Linked DNA regions of Homo sapiens: all the other regions are linked to region 4. The links are contacts of gene promoters, found by promoter capture Hi-C in blood cells and fetal thymus (Javierre and others, 2016). All regions are on one chromosome and are shown on one strand. Each heading gives the region's core, a stretch centred on a gene start or on the middle of the fragment in contact. The rest is flanking DNA. Distances are from core to core; before and after follow the strand shown.

Region 1 (2,901 bases), core at 394-2,893, 290 kb after region 4:
ACTTTCCAGATATCTCTTATGTACATTTTCAGACAGAATTGACAGCTAGGGAAGTATATAAATAGACGATTCTATAACAAGGTGTTCCTTGTTATAATGAGTGCTCCTTGTTATAATGAGTGCTATGCATGATCTTTTGAAAAAATATACTTAATTGTACTTTCATTTAACAGAAGAAAATGAAACTGAAGTAATACTGTAATTGTTTCTTCACCACTTTCTTTAAGTTGATTTCTCAGATGTGCCTTTAAGGCAGTGGTTCTTGACTGGGCGTGATTTTTGTCCCCTAGGGGCCATCTGGCAATGTCCCATTTTTGGTTGTCCCAAATAGGGGGTGGGGGAACGCTGGCATCTAGTGAATGGAAGATAGCGATACTGCTAAACATCTTAAATGTGCAGGACAGCCCCCCACGACAAAGAATTATCTGGCCTCAAATGTCCATAGTGTTGAGGCTGAGAACCTGCTCTAAGGGTAAGAAAAAATGATGTTTAATACCATTAGGAAGGTAAAACTGTTAATGTTTTAGCTGGGTTGCAGTTTTAGACAGTTTTAATTGGGCTTCTGTCATGAAAGATGAGTTGATTAACCTCATTATAATTTTTTCCTCCTTTCCTGAACAAGAAAATCAAGAGGTAGCATATGTTGTTTTTACCTTGTCAGGGTTCATAACATTTACGCTCTGTTCTGCAAAAATAATCCCCAGGTGTTTAGTCTTAGTTTTGTTTTGTTTTATTTTATTTTATATTATTTTATTTTTTGAGACGGAGTGTTGCTCTGTTGCCCAGTCTGGAGTGCAGTGGTGCGATCTCAGCTCACCGTAACCTCCATCTCCCAGGCTCAAGTGATTCTCATGCCTCAGCCTCCTGAGTAGCTGGGACTACAAGCATGCGCCACCATGCCTGGCTAATTTTTGTATTTTTAGTAGAGATGGGGATTCACCACGTTGGCCAGGCTGATCTCGATCTCCTGGCCTCAAGATGTCTGCCCACCTTGGCCTCCCAAAGTGCTGGAATTACAGCTGTGAGCCATGGCGCCCGGCCCTTAGTTCTGTACTTAAATGATCAATGCCAAATACCACTTCTCAGCCCATTGTTTCCCCCTTTCTGTGTTGATTTTGAGTCACCTCTTGGTTGGTGGGCTGTGTGATCTTAATATAAATTTAACATGTGTAGGAAGGGAGACGTCGGTCCCTGCCTGCTTTGCCCTGTCAGACTTGCACCTGCAGATTTGAGTTTGTGTCTATGCACCACACTTAGAGGAAGAGTAGAGAGACACGCTGAGTGTCTCTGGGATGCAGTCAGGGTGTGAAGCAGGGTCCCGGGGAGAAGTGGGGTTGGATGTGAAACTGGATTTTGAAAAGACTTCCATGTGGAAGCAGGATTATTGATCTTAACTGAGGGCTCCCAGAGGTTAGAACTAGAACTACATGAACATCAAGGACAGGGTGGCTGATAATAGGCTGGGAAGGTGATGAGTTCCCTGTTAGCCGAAGTGTGTTGGGGAACCACCTGTTGCTATACTGTCCCTAGGTGTTGGGCTTAAGCCATCAGCTGAGCTGCTGCATTAGGTAATTTTTCAATCTTGAGATTCTGATAGTCTAATTAATGCTTTCTGTAACCACCTGTCCTGGGGAAGAGCCCCAGTCACTCTGGTTCCCTGCTTGGTGTTGTTTGGGGCAAGTGGGAGAACAGCCAGGGCCATGTTTCATGAACAAGTGGTTCAGGGTGGAGCTTTAAATGTTCTGTACACCTTAAATTTGGACCCACCATCTACCAACTCAAAAGTGTATGTGTCAGATTCTGCCAAACTAGTTCAGTTGATGTTTGTAGTATTTACAAGATTATAGGAACTGAGCACATTCTAAACTGATTCCTGAGCCAATACATGTATATAGAATCCGGGAAACGTATTGCAGACCTGCAAAGGAAGAGAACATACACAGATTGTTCCCTGCATGATTGGAATTGGGTGCTCTGTTAATGTAGTAATCAGATGTCTATCGCAGTGTGACTTACTGATGTCTTTGATGTGTTGCAGGGGAGCTATCCAGTTTGGGAAGATTTCATAAACAAAGCAGGAAAGCTGCAGTCCCAGCTTCGGTAAGTAGAAGCACATGTTCTACAGGAAAAGGACAACATCCTCAGACAAGGATGGAGTGGGACAGACCAAAATGCAGATTGATTAGGGTTGATTCAGGAAGTGCTGCAGATAGGGAAGCCTGTGCTGGGTTCTGATTGGAGCATGATCACCTATAGCCATATATCCTGGGCCCTGATTGCCATATGTAAAATGGGACTCATTCATGTCTGCTTTCCTCCTTCCATAGGAATTTTGAGAGTCAAATGAGGTAGGTACTGTATGTAAGGTAGCAACGGGTAACATTTATGTATTGCTCACTATGTGCCAGGCATTTGTTAACTTGTTTAAATCTCATAACCCCACAAGGTACATACCATTATTATCCCCATTTTACTGATGAGGAAACTGAGGCACAGCGAAGTTAAATAACTTATCCATAGTCACATCACTACTAAATGGCAGAGCAAGGATTTGAACTTAGGCTCTCTGGCTCCAGAGTCCATGTTCTCCTCCATTCTGCTTACTGCCTCTCCACAAATAGAGTTTAAAACCTCCTGTTGGCTGGGTGTGGTGGCTCACACCTGTAATCCCAGTACTTTGGGAGGCCCAGGCAGGCAGATCACAAGGTCAGGAGTTCAAGACCAGTCTGGCCAACATGGCGAAATCCCATCTCTACTAAAAATACAAAAATTAGCTGGGCATGGTGACGAGTGCCTGTAATCCCAGCTACTTGGGAGGCTGAGACAGGAGAATCGCTTGAATACAGGAGGTAGAGGTTGCAGTGAGCCGAGATTGTGCCATTGCACTCTAGCCTGGGCGAC
Region 2 (2,928 bases), core at 228-2,727, 320 kb after region 4:
TAAAATTGTGGGCTGCTTCCTTTTTAACCACATGTTAAACATTACACATTAAACGTTAAAACATTTGTGTATAAGAAACTTTTTTTCTTTTTTTTTTGCTTACTTTAAATGGAAGTGCTGTCACATTAAACATCAGGTTTAAATCACATGGAAATAAAATGGGGCCAGATAGTTGAATGTACTGTCATTTCACTACTTTAGGAAACATCAGGAGAGGAACCAAGATGGTCTGAAAAGGTCATAGACTGGGGAAGGAAGGGCTGGGATGACCATTTGTCAGCTTTCAAAAAGCAAGACAAAATGGTTATGCCTGGTTCAGATCCCAGCCATTTTTGTTTTCTTCAAGAAAGTGGTTAGAAATGTGTTTTGGTTTCAGAAAAGCCCTGGTTTTCTTTGATGTTTAGTATAAATTTGGCTTGAAATGCCATATTCCATCATTGTCATATGTAGGCATGTGCTTTTTGTGTGTGCTGTAAGGACAATGTCTACACTGGGTCATTTCCCTCCCCACCCAGTTCCCCTTCGTTGAAGTAGGAGCTGCTGTTTCAGTTAGCTGCCCTGAGCTGGCCTTGCAGTTAGCCACTGGCCCATTCAGCAGCCTGGTCTCCCCTTGCTGACTCCAGGCTTCCTTCTGCATCACGAGAGCCAAACCGGCCACTTTAGCCTCCTGTCTACTGTATTCTTACCCTGCAGGAATGGAGGCTGTAGGCTAGAGCCTGCCTGTTCCGTGAGGCTCAGATCCAAAGGCTTACTCTCCTGGAATGGGGCCTCTCTCCTGTCTCTGTGCCGCCCCTCACACCTGTGGCCTTGTGCACTGATGGATTATTTGCCCGAGGTGAAGAGGAAGCGTTGAAGGGATAGCCGTGTTAGTTTTGGATTCCAGCTACTTTGCTGCTGATGGTTGTGCAACCTCCAGGGACCTGCTATTTAGCAAATAGGGCCGAGCACAGCCTGGGGGAGGCTGCCGAAGATGGGGGTGGGCACAAGTTGATGACTAGTGTCCCCACCCCTGCTCTGACTTCACTTAAAGACAACCCCCAAAATGGCTTTAGCGTAAAATGGAAAAGATGGTAAATTATTCTGGCGTGAGGGCTACCCTGTTGTTAGAGTTAAGAAAGTGCATGGCTGCTGTTTAAGAACCTTTGATTTGAGTTGAATCCCAGCCTGCACTCTTTTTTGCAGTGTGACTTTTGGGAAGTTGCCTTAACCTCTGTGTACCTGTTTTCTCATCTGTAAATTGGATGTGATAACAGCACCTTTGTAGGCTGTGTGTGGAGTCTTTGAGAAGGTGTATAAAGAGCTTTCAGTGCCTGGTTCATAGTAGCCTTCAATCGTTAGCTTATATGAATCAGGAAAGCTAGTATTTATTAGCACATACAAATGTGTCAGGCACTATGCTCTGGGCTTCCTATCAATTATAGTAATCTTTATAGAAAGCAGTTTTGTTTTGTTTTATTTTGTTGAGACGGCATTTTTTTTGCTCTTGTCACTGAGGCTGGAGTGCAATGGCATGATCTCGGCTCACTGCAACCTCTGCCTCCCAGGTTCAAGCAATTCTCCTGCCTCAGCCTCCTGAGTAGCTGAGATTACAGGCACCTGCCACCACACCCGGCTAATTTTTGTATTTTTGGTAGAGATGGGGTTTCACCATGTTGGCCAGGCTGGTCTTGAACTCCTGACCTCAAGTTATGCACCCGCCTTGGCCTCCCAAAGTGCTGGGATTACAGGCATGAGCCACTGCGCCCAGCCAGGAGGCAGTTTTGAGAGAGATACTGTTGATTTAAACTAAACAGTGGTCATGTATTTCTATCATTGAAATATATTTGGGATGGTTACATTTTTATCGTGGATATTTAAAAAGACATACCTCAAAACAAAACAAAACAGAAACTGGGAATGGCATAGAAGCAGAACCTTTGCTGCTTGAAATAGCTCCTTCAGCATAAAACACATGTAGGAGTCCTGAGGTTGGCATTTCTCTCTGCCGCTGGGATGCTGAGTGGAAGATTTGTTACTTGAGTTCATCATTTGCTTTTTTTTTTTTTTTTTAAATGTCACAGCTTCTCTGTGTTGTTTTTGACTCCATAGACACATTTGTCTAAGGTTTTAAAAGTTCAGCTTTTCACTTAGGAGGAAGCTGAGCTCTGTAATTTTCCTTTTTGCATCTGACACTAGGACATTGGAGTCTCTTTCATGCTGGGGGACCCTCTCTACTCTGGGCTATACCACTTAATCCTCAGGTGGCCCTGAACAGATTATTAACTTGCTTAAAGGTGGTTAAGGAGCTCCTCTCCTGCGGTCTAAAGAAATCCCCACTCTGGCCAGGAGGGTCTTGGTGACCTTGCCGAACCATCCTCCCCTAGGAGTAGAGACTGGGGTAACATAAAATGCAGAGAAGCAATGACCTCAAAGCAGCTGGGTAGATGTGACAGCTCCTCAAAGCCTTACCTGTTTTGCCTAAGAGGAGTGTCCTTCATTCGTACCTATAGAAACACTACTTGGCAACAGTGAATGTTCTCTGACACATGTAATAGGTTGTTAAGTTTCTCTATTTAGAGTCCATTGGTAGTCAAGACCACCTGGGTGCTGTTTGCAAGACATAACTATCATGGAAGTATTTAATACTATACTATTGGTATAGCAGGTACATGATATGCTATTAGTGCTGTAGAAATGTTATGTTAGAGACGGGAACCTGAAGCCCCTCCTTGTGGCACATAGACAACCTTTGTTTTTTCCTATAATCCTTTCCACCTTTTCCTTGGGGTAATGCCCCTCCAAGTGTGCTCTCCCCTGGGACTCAGCTGCCTAGGCCTTCCTTCTTAGCCACTGTTAGCTGAGAGCAGAGGCAGCAGCTCTGGCTGGCAGTGGCCCCTGGAGCTTTGACATCTGGAGGGGATGAGGACCCCGTTCGGATGACTCCTGCCC
Region 3 (2,810 bases), core at 160-2,659, 270 kb after region 4:
GGCAATCTGGCTCTACAAGCAGTCATCTTGATAGTTAGAATACCAATAGTATTAAAATCACAATAATGATTGGCAGCAAACGATGTGTCAAGCACCCGTTATTGGCAAGGTGAAGATGAGTCGGATGCATTCGAACGCCCTTGGGGACAGGATCCAGCAGGGGTGATCAAGAGATCAGTTACTTCCTGAAGGTAACACCCTTCCGGGTGATTTCGGGGAGACGGATGGGGAAGGTGGGTTGCAGTTAAGAGTTGGGCAGAGTGATCCAGGGGAACATTATCTTCTGCAGCTGTGCTGTGTAACTCCATGCATCCCTTTGATCCATAAAGTTTTCAAAGCCAGACCTTTTCCCATTACGGAGTGAATCTGACACAAGTGTACAGAATTTTGCACTTGGTTTCTTTTGGCCCCACTCCCCCCAGTCTTTTCTTTTGTTATGTTTTGTGCTTCAAATGGTTAGCTCAAGGGTTAAAGGAACTGTCCGGAGTTAGGTGCCTATGTCTTAATATCTTTTAAAAGTTGCTCATTTGATTCTCCTCCCTCTGGCCCATTTGGCGTTCATCTGAATGAGGGCTCCTGGTTATGCAGATAGGCAGTGGAGCTGTGAAAATGGACCACTAGGCCCCAAATCAACCTGGGCACATTTGCGCTCTGCAGGTTCAACCTCCCAGGAGGGCTCCCTGCGGTTATACCAACGCTGGCTGCTCTCAGTGGGCCTGAAAACCATCAACCGTCCAAGTCATAGGCAATCAGCAATCTCGATAGACTGATGGATCGTGGACAGAAGCTCTAACGCTGTTTCCATTCATTTAGCAACAGCAAATCAATCCACTTTCCCAGCATCCTGCAACTTTATCGAACTCGGCATCCCATTGCAGGATACGCCCCCGAACTCTCCTTAATTATATATTTCGCTATTTGCAATCAGGACTCGGCGATGCAGTCCTGACATCAGAGAATGGGCGTCTTCTCAGAAGGCCGCAGTAGCGGCAGCAGCTTTCCCGCCCTACTGAGCGCTCACTACAAGCGGGCTCTGGGCTAGGCGCGCCACCCGTGCAAGTCCCCGGGGAGCGGCGGTGCACCCTCCGTCCCGCGCGCTCGCAGCCATTGTAGGGGTGGGCGCTCGCCAGGCAGGGTGCCGACACGCCCTCTCCGCGCTGCGACGGGCGGCCGGGGGAGGAGAGGGTGCGCTGTGCGCACCGGAGGGAGAGGCTCCGGCCCAGCGCCGCCTGCCCGCCAGCAGACCAGCAGGCTCCTCTTTGCGGCGGGTGCCCCACGCGCCTCTCGGGCGCGCGCTCCCAGCCCCGCCCGCGTGCGGCGGCCGCACGGCCGCGAGAGCGCGCCTCCGCTTGGCGGGCACGGCCGCGAGCGCGCGTGCGCCCCTCCGAACGTCCCCGGGAGCCCAGCCAGAGCGAGCGCCGGGGCCGGGCGCGCAGGAGTGAAAAGGAGGCGGCGGCCGCAGCTGCGAGCAACAGATCCGGACGCCGCGAGCTGACCCGCTCTGCTGTTGGGCGATTTTTTTTTAATTGCAGAAAAATTTATTAAATTGGAAAATCTTGCGTTTTTCAATGGCGCTGGCCCCGGGTCAGCGGGCGATTTTCTCTGCATCAAGATGGGCTTTGCCGTTTCCGTAGTGGGCACCAGTGGTGGCCTGATTGTCAGTCTTCTCCCGGCATTTTTAAGGCCAGGAGCCGAGCGCTGCTTGTAGGCGAATACCCTACAGAGCGGTTTGGCTTTTTAAATTACTGTTATTATTTTGGGCAGAGAACAGTCGGTCTGGTGCACCCCGTCCTCGCTGCAGAAGAGGCTGCGAGTCCGAGGTGGGTCTCTCGGAAGGTGAAATTCCTTCTGGGGTGAGCGAGCCCCGGCCCCGCGCGCAGTCCAGCGGCCCCGCGTGTGTGCCCTCGCCCTGCCGGAGCCGGGAAAATGGAGGCTGTGATTGAGAAGGAATGCAGCGCGCTCGGAGGCCTCTTCCAGACCATCATCAGCGACATGAAGGTAGGACGCCGGGGGTGCGGCTGCGGCGCCGGCCGCCGCGCTCTGACCTCGCCGCCGCGCTTCGCCTCCACCCCGGGCCGGGCACCCGGCCCTTCCCTGCAGTGTGGCCACCGGCCACCTGCGGGAGCTCCCGGCCGGAGTGTCACCTGCTCACCCGGGGCGCTGCTCCGGGCTCTGCGGGGTCACTGGGCGGGTGGCTTCTCTGGGGGGTGTCTGCTGTCCCACGCCATCTCCCCCGCTCATTGTCCCAGGGGGCGGCACCATTTCTTTCCCTCGGGGGCTCAAGGCACTGGCTGCAAGTTTTCCCATTGTCTGTCCCTGAAGTAAGTGTCTGGGACCCGCGGGGGCTGGATGCCCGGGAGGACACCTGATTCCTCCGGGCACGGGGTGGGGGCGCCTGGCGCGGTGGTGGGGAGGAAGTGGGGGCTCTGCCCGCTCGCAGGAAGGAGTCCCCTAGCCTAGGAGACTGAGAGGGAAAGCCAGTCCCTCCTTGGCTGTCAGGTCTACTTGGAGTGGGGTATCTGAGCAAATTAGTTATTAATTGGGCCGTTCCGAAGCTGGTAAAGGTGTGCGTGCCCTCTCTTAGCCCTCCCGCGGGGCGCGGGGCCGAAGTTCCCGGGCAGCCTTGCAGGGGCCCCGCCTTCTCCCAGCTGAGCCTAAAGGCAAGATTGGGGCCCCCGAAATAACTGTATCCTGCCCTCCCAGACCCAAACGGACACACACTCTAGGTTTTCTCTTGGAAGGGTTGTGAAGATGGTGTGTGTGTGCGCGCGTGCATGTGTGTGTGCGCGCGCGCGCGTGGGGGCGGGGAA
Region 4 (2,847 bases), core at 1-2,500:
AGTGAACCCAATCCTACTCCTAAATAAGACATTCATCTGCCCGCTTTGAAATCAACCTACCCTCCTGGCCTCGAGCTGCTCCTTATTTTCTGATTCAGGGGGGGATTTGGCCCAGAAGAAGCCAATGAAAGGCAGGCCTGAGAGAATATCCGAGAAGAGGGCGAACTGGGAGCCGCTCTGCTGGCGCCCGAGGAGACCCCCGTTTCGGTGGCGACAGCGGTAGGAGAGCACCAGGCCCAGCGAGAGGAACACCAGCACGCACAACAGGACCTCCCTGTTGGCCAAAGTGATGAAGTCCCCGAACTTCTTATAAAAATAGGTGAAAGTGGCAATGCCCAGAAAAGTCCACATGGTTCCAAGGCTTCTTTGGTGGCACCGGTCAAGGCGGAGATTATCTGCTCGAGTGGGTTTAAGGTTCTCCCCAAAATGAGGTACCAAGAGGAGCACGGAGAGCCGGCCAGACTCCAGTAAACAGTGTCCCAGGACGAGAAGTCCGATCAGACCAGTTTTTAAAAATCATATAAAGTTAGTGTAAAAGTATGTGAAGCCAAGTTGTATAGGGCGTAGAAAGCAGTATTTAAAAATCGCCTGCTGGAACAGCTCCCGAGCAGACTCGCTCCTCCTCGCCCAGGAAATCCAGATATTCCCTTTTTTTCTTTTTTGATGGTGTTCCCTGAGCGGTTGCTGCGGGTGATGGATACTCTTCTGATACTGGCTCTTCGTGCTATAATTTCTTTTCTCACCAAGAGCAGGTGCCCTTTCAGAAGGGAATGGGAGTGGAGGGAGGGTCACAGAAACACCTCGGCACTGGGGGAAACGTGGCCTAGCCTCTGGCGACGGCGAGCAGCGGCCGGAAGGCACGGGGGCTGCGGGCCGGCGCGGGTTCAGAGGCTTCTTTTTCCGCGGACGGAGACACTGTACAGCCCAACCTCGGGAAAACGCCAACGCCGACGCCTTCTCCAACAAAAGATGGCCTCGGACTCAAGAGTGCGGCTCCAGGGCAATGCAGCCCCAACCTAAAGATTTAGAGGCCTCCCGTTTCGCTGGCCCCCAGAGCCGCCCACCGCGACTGCACTTCCCCACCGATAAAAGGTGGTTTCCAGGGTACCTCCCTCAGATGGCGGCGGCGGCTCCCGACGGCTTCCTCACCAGCATCCCTCGCGGGCGGCGGCTCTCGCCAGCGCGGCGCGGCCCCAGTAACCAGAGTAACCGTCGCACGCCCCCACTCGCCGCCAGGCTCCACGCGTCTCAGCCAGCTGGGCGGGCTCGGCCCAGACGAGGGACCGGGGGCGGGGCTCAGGCGCGAGTCCGCCCATACCGCGCGCCCCGCGTGCTGCCCCGCCCCCTACCCCTGCTCCTGCCGCCGCCGGCCAATGAGGGCGCGCACCGCGCGGTAGGCCGAGATGGCGCTATGCCGCGTTTGGCCAATCGGAGGCGGCGCAACCTGCGCGGCGACGCCCCGAAAGGCGCTAGGGCGATGTTGCGTGGTGCGGGTTGGGGCGTGGGGATGGGCGCGGGCCGGCTCCGGCGTGGGTGGGGCCAGGGGTCGCCTAGGAGGCGCTCTGGGGCCGGGATCGGCGTCGGGGTCGGGGTTGGGGTTGGTTCACCGCAGCAGCCCCAGCTCCTGCGCCCTCCCTGGACTGAGGTGTGCTCGCTTTGAGGAGAAGCCTGGAGTGATCCGCTGCCTCGGGTCGGAACGTTTCCATTCATTCCGCTAGCATTTATTGAGCGCTTATGATATGTCAGTCCCCGGAGTCCGAAAGAGGAATCAGACACAGCTTCCCTGCCCTGTGTATGTGGAGAGGGCGGAAGGGAGGGCCATGAGTGCGTGGAGAGCCTGACATTCCAGCTGAAGCTGGAAGAATGAGTAGGCTTTTGCCTTAAGAAGAAAAGGAGAGGACGCTCCAGGTGCTCAGGCTAGAGATACACGGATGCGCCCAGCCCGTTCTCTCAAGACCAGAAACGTTGGGGGTGGGGGCTCGGAGGCAAAGAAGTCAAATAGTCGTGTCATAGGTGTCCTGAGAAGGGGGTGGTTAGAGAGGGAGCCATGGAAACCCAAGAGGTGGTCCTTCCCTTGGCCTGGAGAAGTCTGGTGAGGCGCCCAGGGGGAGGTTACACGGTGTCCAGGACAAGCAGTCCGAGGGAGCAAAAGTGTGCAAAAGTCTCGGAGTGAGACAGCCCTTATTCTACTACGATGAAACTTACCTAAAATTTATTGAGGCTTAAGACCTCAGTGTCTTTGCTCATCCTGTTTCTTAACTCTGGACTTCCTTCTTTAACCCCTATGATAATAGGTGCAAATCCCTTCTGCCTTTTGGAGCGTGGCTGCATTGTCACCTCTTCCACCAAATCGCCATTGACCTTCACCAAGTCACATAACTTTATTCATACTTTTTAATCTCTAGATTCCCTAAAGATCTGTGTCTGATAAGATCACCCACAGCACCTAGCACAATGCTCTGCCCTTAATTTATCCTCCATAACATGTATTTAATGAATGATGAACGACACTGGCGCATAAAAGCAAGACTAGGCAACTAGAGTTAGGAGACCCAGATTCTGGCTACCGCTAACCAGACTGTGACCTTTTACAGATGTTACAAGTCACTCTGCCTCTGTGGGGAGAAGGCAACTTCTTCATGAACTCGAACATCCTTTGCAATTCTGTATCAGATACTTGGCAGGGTTTAAAAAAACATGGCACCTCTTATAACTTTTCACCCCCAATATTATGTTTTATCTGCTAATAAAATAATTATTTGGTAAAACACCCGCACAGGCGTTCACTTGACCCTCAAAACAACTTTGATTTTTAAAATGAGGAAAATGAAAATTAAAGAGGTTAAA
Region 5 (3,119 bases), core at 442-2,941, 340 kb after region 4:
GTCTGTCTGTCTGTCTGTCTTAGCATGAGGTTTAGCAGGCAGCCTCAGGAAAAACTTACAGCCCGAAAGGGAGTGTCTGGCCATGCTGCTGGCACTCCCTCTTTTCCTAGAGACACGTGTGCAGGTGTCTGAGTGCAGGCTAAGTACAAGTTGCCCATTTCGGCTCCAGAACCCAGCCAGGCAGCTGTTGGCATAGCATCCCTGAGGGAGGTTTCAGCGTTGGGTGGGGAGTGGGGCCCAGATACTGATATCCAGTGTTCTCACCTGGCTAAAGGAGAGCAGCTGCCCCTTGGTTACCTGGAGAAAACAATCAGGAAAGGCTCGTGGTCACGTCTCGGTCCCTTGGATCATTAGGTAGTTGCCCTTGATTTCCGTGAGCTTTATCTGACTGCAAGGGTACATTACACGGTCCCCTTGGATACCACGACAATTGTACCTGGTCTGTTTCCTCCCAAGAATTTTGGAGGACTTTAAAATTTAACCCGTGGGAGGGCAGGGAGGGAAGTCTTGGTACTTACAAATAAAAAAGCATTACTGCCTTATTCTCCCACCCCCTCCCCCAATATTTACAAATATAATAAATAATAGCTTTCGTTTACTCTCTAGAGCAGGGGCTCTTCAATGTGGGAGTTTACCTCAGAATCACTTGGGTAGCTGTTTGACAGTACGTATGTCTAGACCCTGTCTTCAGAGGGTGCGTCAGGAGGCCTGGGGCAGAGCCCGGATCCTGAGTATTGGGGAAAGGCTCTCCAGGTAATTGTGATGGACACCCTAGACAGAGAACCACTGTGTTAGATGGAAAAGCTTCCTGGTGGCAGAGACTGAGGCCTCTCTTGGTGTCCTGTGCTGTGTATGGCATACAGTATTTTTTTTATTCAGAAGTATTTATTGAACATCTACTATGTGCCGGGCCCTGGAATACATTCGTATCACTGTTCTTGGTGCTCCTAGAGCCCTGGCGGAGGGGCCCTAATTGTGTTGGATGCCAAGAAACCAGATAGGCAGCTTCTATTCATTCTCAGTTGTCATTGGATTATGGTCTTCCTGAGTGGTGTGAGGTAGGCACCCGGAATTATAGCGTTGACGTTGTCCTCTTTCCCAAAAATTGAACATAGCTCACCAAGCAGGGGCCCCTGGAACGTTGTAGCACATGCGATCAATAGATCTAACATGCCACCCCTGCCTTTCCCATTAACTTTCAGGCTAAAGAGCTGAGCTTGGGACAAGACTGGGCTGGATCATTTCCCTTTCTCTTTAATCTAAAAAGAACCTGAAGCTGGCTACTTCCTTGGTGTTCATGGATGGGTGAGAGCCATCTTGAGCCTCTCCTATCTGCTAGACACAAAGGACGTGAAGATGAATGGAGCATGGCCCTCATACTTTACAAATATCATAGTCTAAGGGGAGTCAGAAATGCAGACAGATGTGGGCCGTACAGTGTGACAGGTCCTGAATGTATGCTGAGCAAACTGTGAACAGGCTGTCGCAGCTATGGTGAGTTGTGGGAAAGAGGGGAATCCTTTATGGGACAGTGCTGATTGGACTTCCCAGGTTCCTCCCTAGCCCCGGCCTTTGAGGGGTGGTGTTTGTAGCGGGTGGCTGACCAGGAAGGAAGCCTTACCACCCCTCACCTGGGCTGAGGAGGCTCTGCTTCGTGCCTCTCCCAGCAGTGTCTGCACCTTTGGCGTGGCTAGGACTCCACTACCTGACCCTGTGGCCTGTCCAGTTTTCAAGCTGATGGTCACACGTATCTTCCCAGCTGCGGGGCTCCTTTTGTGTTCACCTGAGACAATCGTAGCTTCTGTTTCTAAGAGCTAGTGCTTTGATCATGTTTTCATCAGAAAAACATGGTTCATGAACTTGCTCTTTGTCTAGATCCTGTAATAATCAGGTTGTGCAGGCATGAATTGTTAGTAAAAATTCATCAGTTTACAGAAAAAAAAAAAACCTAGAAGAAAATAAAGGGACACGTCTAACATTGGTGTTGTTTCTGGGTAGTGCGTGTATGGGGACCATTTTCCTAAGGTTTTTACTTTTCAGGTTATCCTTTCATTTTGGAAAAAGACGATAAATATTATTTCTTAAAACCTACATGTGTTGGTGAGCTGTTGTTACTGAAACCCTTTCCTCCAAGGATGAAGGTTCTGAATGATAAACTTTTTAATGATCACACTCATCCCACTGCCCTCTGGCATCTTATTGGTGGCTGGGTCTGGTTTTACTTTTCACTGAATGTTCCATTTTCTCTGTTGATTGACGATGGCCTCAGGGCCAAGAGGTGACTACTGTCAGAGGATACAGTGTGAACCAAATTGTGCGTGTGTGTACGTGTGCGTGGGAGGGTGTGTATGTGTGTTCCACTCGGACCTTGGGGCACAAGTCCCTCATCCTTTGCTCTTGTGGGAAGACACTGGACCAGGCTGCTTAGTATAGAGGAGAACCAGAGTATCACAGGGCACCCAGGAGGAAGAGAGGCATGGGAGAGTTGAGGGGCATTTCCATACTGCACTAGCATGAAAGCTGTACCACATTCAGAATTTTAGAACACTGATATCATGTGCATTTAGAACAAGCTTCGTAGAAATATTGTGGCTGCTCTGATTCCTCCACTAAGCCAGAGCCTCATATTTGGTGTGTAGTGGGAGGCATCTCAGCCCCAGCAAGTGGGAGGGAGGGTTAATGCTCTAAACAAGGAACTTCCTCTTCTGTTGGAGGCGTGGGTTAGTGATCTGTGCTGTTGTGTGGGAAGCCTTGTTGATTTATCCCCTTGATCTTGCCTCCACCCTTCAGCTTGAGGGTGTGTGTGTGTGTGTGTGTGTGTGTGTGTGTGTGTGTGTGCATGCGCATGGGCAACTTTCTAAATACCAAAATATACATTCTAATTATAAACTAGTGCCATTCGTTCCTTGCCCCCACCCTCCCTTGTTTACTTTCTTTTGGTTAAAGTGCTGCTTCTTTCGAAGGGCCCCTGTTTCTGTGGCACAGCCTATTCCAGATCACTCAAACGGTTGTTTGTGCTTTTCTGATTCCTAACTCTGGGCTGCCGAATGCTTTTTCATCTCCTACAATTGAGCTCAGAGCCAGAGAAGGGCTTTTGAAGGTTCATTTCTGAAATGTAC
Region 6 (2,740 bases), core at 33-2,532, 380 kb after region 4:
TGTCAGACTGCCCTGGGATCCTTAGCCCTGCCTCTGTCATTACTCTGGAGCTGCCAGGCTGAATAGACACTGCCCCTGTGATTCCCCTGTACCCATCCCTTTCTTTTCTTTTTCTGTGTCACGTCGTCAACCTGAGTCTAGGCTGCTTTTGCTCACCAGTTCTCTGAATGTCTGGTCCATGCCTCCCAGTTTCTCTTTTTACAACCTGGGCTGAGGATCTTCTGAAAACGTCCCTTCCCTGCTCAGAAAGCGGGTGCACTCTTGCTGTCTGAACGCGGAGCCATTTGGCTTAGAGCTCTCTGATAGTGCAAAAATAATAAATTGTGGGCTTGCTGCTTTCTCCTCCAGACTATGGTCCACTCATTGAGGACGGGGGCTGTCTTCTTCTTCTGTCCTATATGAGTCTTCGCACAGTGACAAACCTTTTCAAATAGGAGCGTGAGTGAAATGGGGGTTGAAAGTAAGCCTCTCTCCTTTGTTTTAAGCTGGTGTAACAGCACATATCAGTTCACCCACACGAAGCAATGGTTGATAGCTTCGATGAGCTGACAAGAAAGGAGGCAGTTTCCTTACTTTCCCAGAGAAAGGCAAGATGGCAGTGAGTTTTAGAAGGTGCTTAGCGCGGGCCCCGCAAGGTGGCTTCCGCCTGTAATCCTAGCGCTTTGGGAGGCCAAGGTAGGCGGATCACCGGAGGTCAGGAGTTTGAGACCAGCCTGGCTGGCCAACATAGTGAAACCCGGTCTCTACTAAAAATACAAAAATTAGTCGGGTGTGGTGGTGTGGGCCTGTAGTCCCGGGTACCCAGGAGGCTGAGGCAGGAGAATCGCTTGAACCCAGGAGGCAGAGGTTGCAGTAAGCTGAGATCACGCCACTGCACACTCACTCCAGCCTGGGTGACAGAGCAAGACCCTGTCTCAAAACAAACAAACAAACAAACAAAAAAACACAGAAGATCCTTCAGTGTTTCAGGTGCTCTTTGGTTTTTTTAGGCCAAATGCTTAAATTGGACAGTTAATTTTATGCATTTCTCTCTTTTGGGCCAATTTGTGAAGCCAGCAAGTGTTTATTGGACAGATGAGTTGTTTGGGGGAAGGGCCAGGGCATCTAACTCTTTTAGGTGTTGGATTTGGTTATGTTTGGTAAAAGAAAATGTGGCATTCACAAAATTGAGCCTAACCACATTTTCCAATAATTTTTGCCTTTCCTGTTGCTGCTCACAAAGGTGGTTGATCAATACCTTACTGGAAAAAATGTCTGAGGACATATGACAGGTTCACTATAGACATATGAGCACAGATACATGCAGTTTAGTTGTGTGTAGTCTTCGTAAGAAGGATAAACGTGTGTGAGTTCAGAAGACAAGAAATAGGGTTGAAGTTAAACAATTTTCAGTAGGGTAACCATACTCTGAAACAGCCAGTCAAGGCTTGTGGGAGACTTCTTATTGGAATCCTTCAGTCAAGACAGTTCTTTGGATTAGGAACCACTTGAGTGCTTCCTCTCATCGCAGTGACCTGCCCTCCTGGAAGGTGTGAGAAAGGCAAGCAGGCTGGATCGTTCTTACTGTTACACAGGGATGGGCTCGTCTGTGCTCTGACTTTGCCTTGGGCCCCATCTCCCTACTTTCCGGGTCAGGGAAGATTGTCTTTTGTGTGTTTGTGTGTATATTTAAGGTGTACAACATGAAGTTTTGATACACTTAGTGAAATGGTTACTATAGTCAAGCAAGTTAACATATCTATCATTTCTCATAATTACTTTTTTTTTTTTTTTTGAGATGGACTCCCTGCTCTGCCGCCCAGGCTAGAGTGCGGTGGTGTGATCTCAGCTCATTGTAACCTCCACCACCCGGGCTCAAGCGATTCTCCTGCCTCAGCCTCCCGAGTAATGGATTACAAGAGTATGCCACCAAGACCAGCTAATTGTTGTGGTTTTAGTAGAGACAGGGTTTCACCATGGTGGCCAGGCTGGTCTCGAACTCCTGACCTCAAGTGATCCGCCTGCCTTGGCCTCCAAGAGTGCTGGGATTATGGGAATGAGCCACTGCACCCAGTCATTTACCTTTTTTTTTTTTTTTTTTTTCAATATGGCAAGAGCTCCTAAAATCTACTGTCTTAGCAGAAATCCCCGGTATAATTCAATGTTGTTGACTAGGAGTCCTCATGCACATTAGGTCTCTGGGCGATGCATCTTGCATATCTGCCTCTCTGCGTCCTTTCACCTACATCTCCCGTTTCCTCCTTCACCTCCCCCACCCCTGCTCCTTGGTAACCACTGTTTTATTTTCTATGTCTTCTACTTAAAAAAATATATTCCACCTATAAGTAAGATCACATACAAGCAAGGTCATGCAGTGTTTGTCTTTCTGTGTCTGGTTTCTTTCACTTAGCATAACGTCCTCCAGGTTCATCCGAATTGTGGCAGAAGGCAGGATCTCTGTCTTTTTTAAGGCTGAAAAATATATTCATATTCTCTCTCTCTCTCTCTCTCTCTCTCTCTCTCTCTCTTTCTCTTTCTGTCTCTCACACTTTCCTTACTCATTCATCAGGGAGGTTCTTAACTGAGAGAGTGAAGCCACCTCGTGCTGGTGCATCACTGAGAGAAAGTAAACCAAACCCAAACCTGAAACGGATGGTTCAAGTGCCCAGAACCCACTTTCTGGTTGAATCTTTCTGACTCTCTAAGGGTTAGTAAGGATTTCTCTGGGGAAAGAGATAGGGGCTGGGCGTGGTGGATCACG
Region 7 (3,125 bases), core at 112-2,611, 350 kb after region 4:
TCCCGAGTAGCTACTAGGACTACAGGTGCACGCCACCATGCTGGCTAATTGTTTTTCGTTTTTTCGTTTTTGTTTTTGTTTTTTGTAGAGACTAGGGTCTCTCCATGTTTTCCGGGCTAGTCTCAACCTCTTGGCCTCAAGTGATCCTCTCACCTCAGCCTCCCAAAGTGCTGGGATTATAGGTGTGAGCCACTGCACCTGGCTGAAAAATGCATTTTTGATGCACTATTTTGAGAGGGTCTCTGGTTCAGGTGTTTGAACAGAAATGTCCTTCTCTACATTTGGGCCTCAAGACCTATCAATGCCACATATATAGTAGGCCCCCAGTAAACGTTTATGGCTCAATGAATCTGTGTATGACATACCTAATTTCATTCAGTTTATCCAGCTAGACATTTTCTTAGAAAAATGACTTAAGGGGTGGACACAAATTCCATAAAATGTTTTAAGCCCTCTTATACTGAATCATAATCGGATGACTTAGGTTTCTCCATGTCCATTTGGAATTATCTCCTGATTTCTTCATAACATTCTGCCAATAGTATTCAGACCTCAGGGCTTTGCTCACAGCCTCTGTAGCAGTGTTTTCCAGTTTGACATTTGCAGGTTAGATTTAGGCCTGGAAACCCCACCACGTCCTGCTCAAGGGACCTGAAGTGGAGAGAGCAGGTAAATATTTAGACACCAGTACTATTTAGCAAAATTGGAGGCTTAAATGTAATTTCCTTGTTTCATTCACTTGGTGAAAAGATTAATTATGTTTACGTGATGCTAAAATTAAATTGTGGTAATATGAAAATCAGACAGCTCAGAACTCAAATGGTAAATGCATCAAGAATCTGTTCTCTAAAATCCATTGTGGAATGAGCTTGGTGTGAAGAAACTCATTAATTAGAAATTCTTTCTTAGAGAATGAGCATTCTACCATGTTCTGCTACTGTCTAGCTGGCAATTGATCTCAGGGACTTTGGAGAACCAAGACTTTTTCATCTGTGGTTGAGATCAAAGAAGACAGAGATAAGGTTGCCAAGGAAACCAAAATGCTACAGAATTATGTGCTGCTCATGCATTTCAATGTGGTTTGAGGTTTGGGAGGCTTTCTTTTTTTTCTTTTGGCACAAATAATAGTACATGAAAATGAGCAATGCCCATGTTCCCAGGTCTTAAAGGAAATGACCACAGGCTTAATGTAACTCAAACCGTGGGCCTAAAGGGAATCCTATTCTTTCTCTTCTTTCTGTACTCAAGCATCAGCAATTAATGGCGTGCTTCCAGTTGGCTTCTCTTTAGTGTGCTTTGTCCCTCTCCATCACAGACACATACCCACACCCACAAACTTTTTAATAACTTTTTCCTGACTTTAAATAAATTACTTGCACAGAATTTCAAAAATACAAACAATTCTCTGACAACATATAAAAGTTACCTGTAATTTTGCCATTTGGAAATACCTAATGTAGTATTTTGTTGTACTTTTCTCCTAATATTTATAGACACAATGGGTACATACTATTTTAAATATATTTATAACATGAAATCCCAAAGTTTTGAGTACAGATTTTCGTGGTTTTTTTTTTTTTTTTTTTTTTTTGAGACGGAATTTCGCTCTTGTTGCCCAGGGTGGAGTGCAATGGTGCGATCTTGGCTCACCACAGCCTCTGCCTCCCCAGTTCAAGCGATTCTCCTGCTGCAGCCTCCCGAGTAGCTGGGATTACAGGTATGTGCCACCACGCCTGGCTAATTTTTTTATTTTTGGTAGAGATGGGGTTTCTCCATGTTGGTCAGGCTGGTTTCGAACTCCTGACCTCAGGTGATCTGCCTGCCTCGGCCTCCCAAAGTGCTGGGATTACAGGCATGAGCCACTGCGCCGGGCTAGATTTTTGTTTTTAAATGATCATATTGTAATCATTTTTCCGTGGCTGCAGGAACAACTCCTATGAACACACAACTGTTTATTTGGCCATTTCCCCCACTGTTGGTTATCTTTTGCTTGTAGAGTTCCAGTATTCTAAATGATGCTGCAGAAGGCATTCCTGTGCATCTTTTTGCATATCTTATTTCCCTAGGATGGAGTCCTCATGTGGGATTGCCGAGTGAGGGCCGTAAGCATTTGTAGGCTTCTGTTGTATTGCCAAATGCTTCTTTGGAAGTCTTATTAACACTAGGGGTTACCAATTTTTTTCTCTCTGCCAAATTTTATTGATCAAAGATACTCAGTTTTCCCCCTTAATTATGCAGAGAAAAAGAAGAATAGCAGCTACCATGGATTGAGAACTTATTGTATGTGCTAAGTCTGTTATTGTTAGTTCTCACAATGGCTGGCTCAAGTAGGTTTCATTGCTCCTGTTTCACAGATGAGAAAACTGAGGTTTAACACCGTGCTTAAGAACCCAGAAGAGCCGGGCGCAGTGGCTCATGCCTGTAATCCCAGCACTTTGGGAGGCTGAGGCAGGCACGTCACCTGAGGTCAGGAGTTCGAGACCAGACTGACCAATATGACTAAACCCTGTCTCTACTAAAAACACAAAAATTAGCCAGGCGTGGTGGCATGCACCTGTAATCTCAGCTACTTGAGAGTCTGAGCCCTGAGAATCACTTGAACCCGGGAGGCAGAGGTTGCAGTGAGCCGAGATCATGCCATTGCAATGCAGACTGGGCAACAAGAGTGAAACTCATCTCCAAAAAAAAGAAAAAAGAAAAAAGAAAAAACCCAGAAGAAACATGGGGCTGTCTTAACAACTCATATTTCCAACTTAGGTGGATCAATATAAATATGTTACTAGCTAAGGAGATGCCTAGAGATCTAATAGTTGTAAAGCCTCCTTGGACTTAAGGTGGGTGATTGGCAGGAAGATGGGAGCTAACTGAAACTTCAAAGGGTAGGCTGACTTTGGGCTCCTTCTGTTGAAAATGGAGATGTTTTTCTTTCCACAGTATAGTGTCCCCTCCCTAGTCTTTGGGTGTGTCATCCTAGCATGTGGAGCTTTTGTAAACAGAAAATTTACAGTGAGTGAAAGCTTTATCTGCTGATTGATTCGTTAAATTAAAAAAAGCCTTCAATTTCTGCCTACTTTCCATTCCTATCACATCCACAATTGAAAGCATGTATTCTGCACCTGCCTCGT

What was found. The method cuts DNA at HindIII sites, captures the fragments that hold promoters and counts their contacts. A CHiCAGO score of 5 or more calls a contact.
Region 1: a contact is called between a fragment that was not itself captured here and the fragment with the promoter of SQLE in region 4, in 4 of 17 cell types (megakaryocytes, erythroblasts, naive B cells and 1 more). The highest score is 13.0, in megakaryocytes.
Region 2: a contact is called between a fragment that was not itself captured here and the fragment with the promoter of SQLE in region 4, in 2 of 17 cell types (megakaryocytes and erythroblasts). The highest score is 8.4, in megakaryocytes.
Region 3: a contact is called between the fragment with the promoter of MTSS1 here and the fragment with the promoter of SQLE in region 4, in 6 of 17 cell types (erythroblasts, megakaryocytes, naive B cells and 3 more). The highest score is 12.7, in erythroblasts.
Region 5: a contact is called between a fragment that was not itself captured here and the fragment with the promoter of SQLE in region 4, in 8 of 17 cell types (megakaryocytes, erythroblasts, M2 macrophages and 5 more). The highest score is 12.1, in megakaryocytes.
Region 6: a contact is called between a fragment that was not itself captured here and the fragment with the promoter of SQLE in region 4, in 6 of 17 cell types (erythroblasts, naive B cells, total B cells and 3 more). The highest score is 8.7, in erythroblasts.
Region 7: a contact is called between a fragment that was not itself captured here and the fragment with the promoter of SQLE in region 4, in 7 of 17 cell types (fetal thymus, erythroblasts, megakaryocytes and 4 more). The highest score is 9.3, in fetal thymus.

What each region holds. Positions count from the first base shown.
Region 1 is chr8:124,703,329-124,706,229 of GRCh38, reverse strand. MTSS1 (MTSS I-BAR domain containing 1) reads left to right here. Exons shown (of 14, transcript NM_014751.6): 2 at 2,039-2,100. Among named protein-coding and RNA genes, the nearest start is that of MTSS1, 24 kb to the left of the region's middle. The HindIII fragment of the contact is 4,968 bases long and covers 1-2,901 here.
Region 2 is chr8:124,680,327-124,683,254 of GRCh38, reverse strand. All of the region lies in intron 3 of MTSS1 (MTSS I-BAR domain containing 1), which reads left to right. Among named protein-coding and RNA genes, the nearest start is that of MTSS1, 47 kb to the left of the region's middle. The HindIII fragment of the contact is 4,754 bases long and covers 1-2,928 here.
Region 3 is chr8:124,727,072-124,729,881 of GRCh38, reverse strand. MTSS1 (MTSS I-BAR domain containing 1) reads left to right here and starts at 1,409. Exons shown (of 14, transcript NM_014751.6): 1 at 1,409-1,998. The coding sequence starts at 1,927. It overlaps LOC105375741 (a long non-coding RNA gene), which reads right to left and starts at 1,343. Exons shown (of 3, transcript XR_002956670.2): 1 at 1-1,343. The HindIII fragment of the contact is 14,334 bases long and covers 1-2,810 here.
Region 4 is chr8:124,996,908-124,999,754 of GRCh38, reverse strand. It overlaps SQLE (squalene epoxidase), which reads right to left and starts at 1,250. Exons shown (of 11, transcript NM_003129.4): 1 at 61-1,250. The coding sequence starts at 351. SQLE-DT (SQLE divergent transcript) reads left to right here and starts at 1,557. Exons shown (of 2, transcript NR_134457.1): 1 at 1,557-1,792; 2 at 2,595-2,767. RefSeq lists enhancers at 890-939, 1,870-1,929 and a silencer at 1,150-1,649. The HindIII fragment of the contact is 7,996 bases long and covers 1-2,847 here.
Region 5 is chr8:124,660,152-124,663,270 of GRCh38, reverse strand. The region is part of intron 3 of MTSS1 (MTSS I-BAR domain containing 1); the gene reads left to right. Among named protein-coding and RNA genes, the nearest start is that of MTSS1, 67 kb to the left of the region's middle. The HindIII fragment of the contact is 1,769 bases long and covers 807-2,575 here.
Region 6 is chr8:124,621,828-124,624,567 of GRCh38, reverse strand. The region is part of intron 3 of MTSS1 (MTSS I-BAR domain containing 1); the gene reads left to right. Among named protein-coding and RNA genes, the nearest start is that of NDUFB9, 84 kb to the right of the region's middle. The HindIII fragment of the contact is 7,610 bases long and covers 1-2,740 here.
Region 7 is chr8:124,642,165-124,645,289 of GRCh38, reverse strand. The region is part of intron 3 of MTSS1 (MTSS I-BAR domain containing 1); the gene reads left to right. Among named protein-coding and RNA genes, the nearest start is that of MTSS1, 85 kb to the left of the region's middle. The HindIII fragment of the contact is 3,316 bases long and covers 1-3,019 here.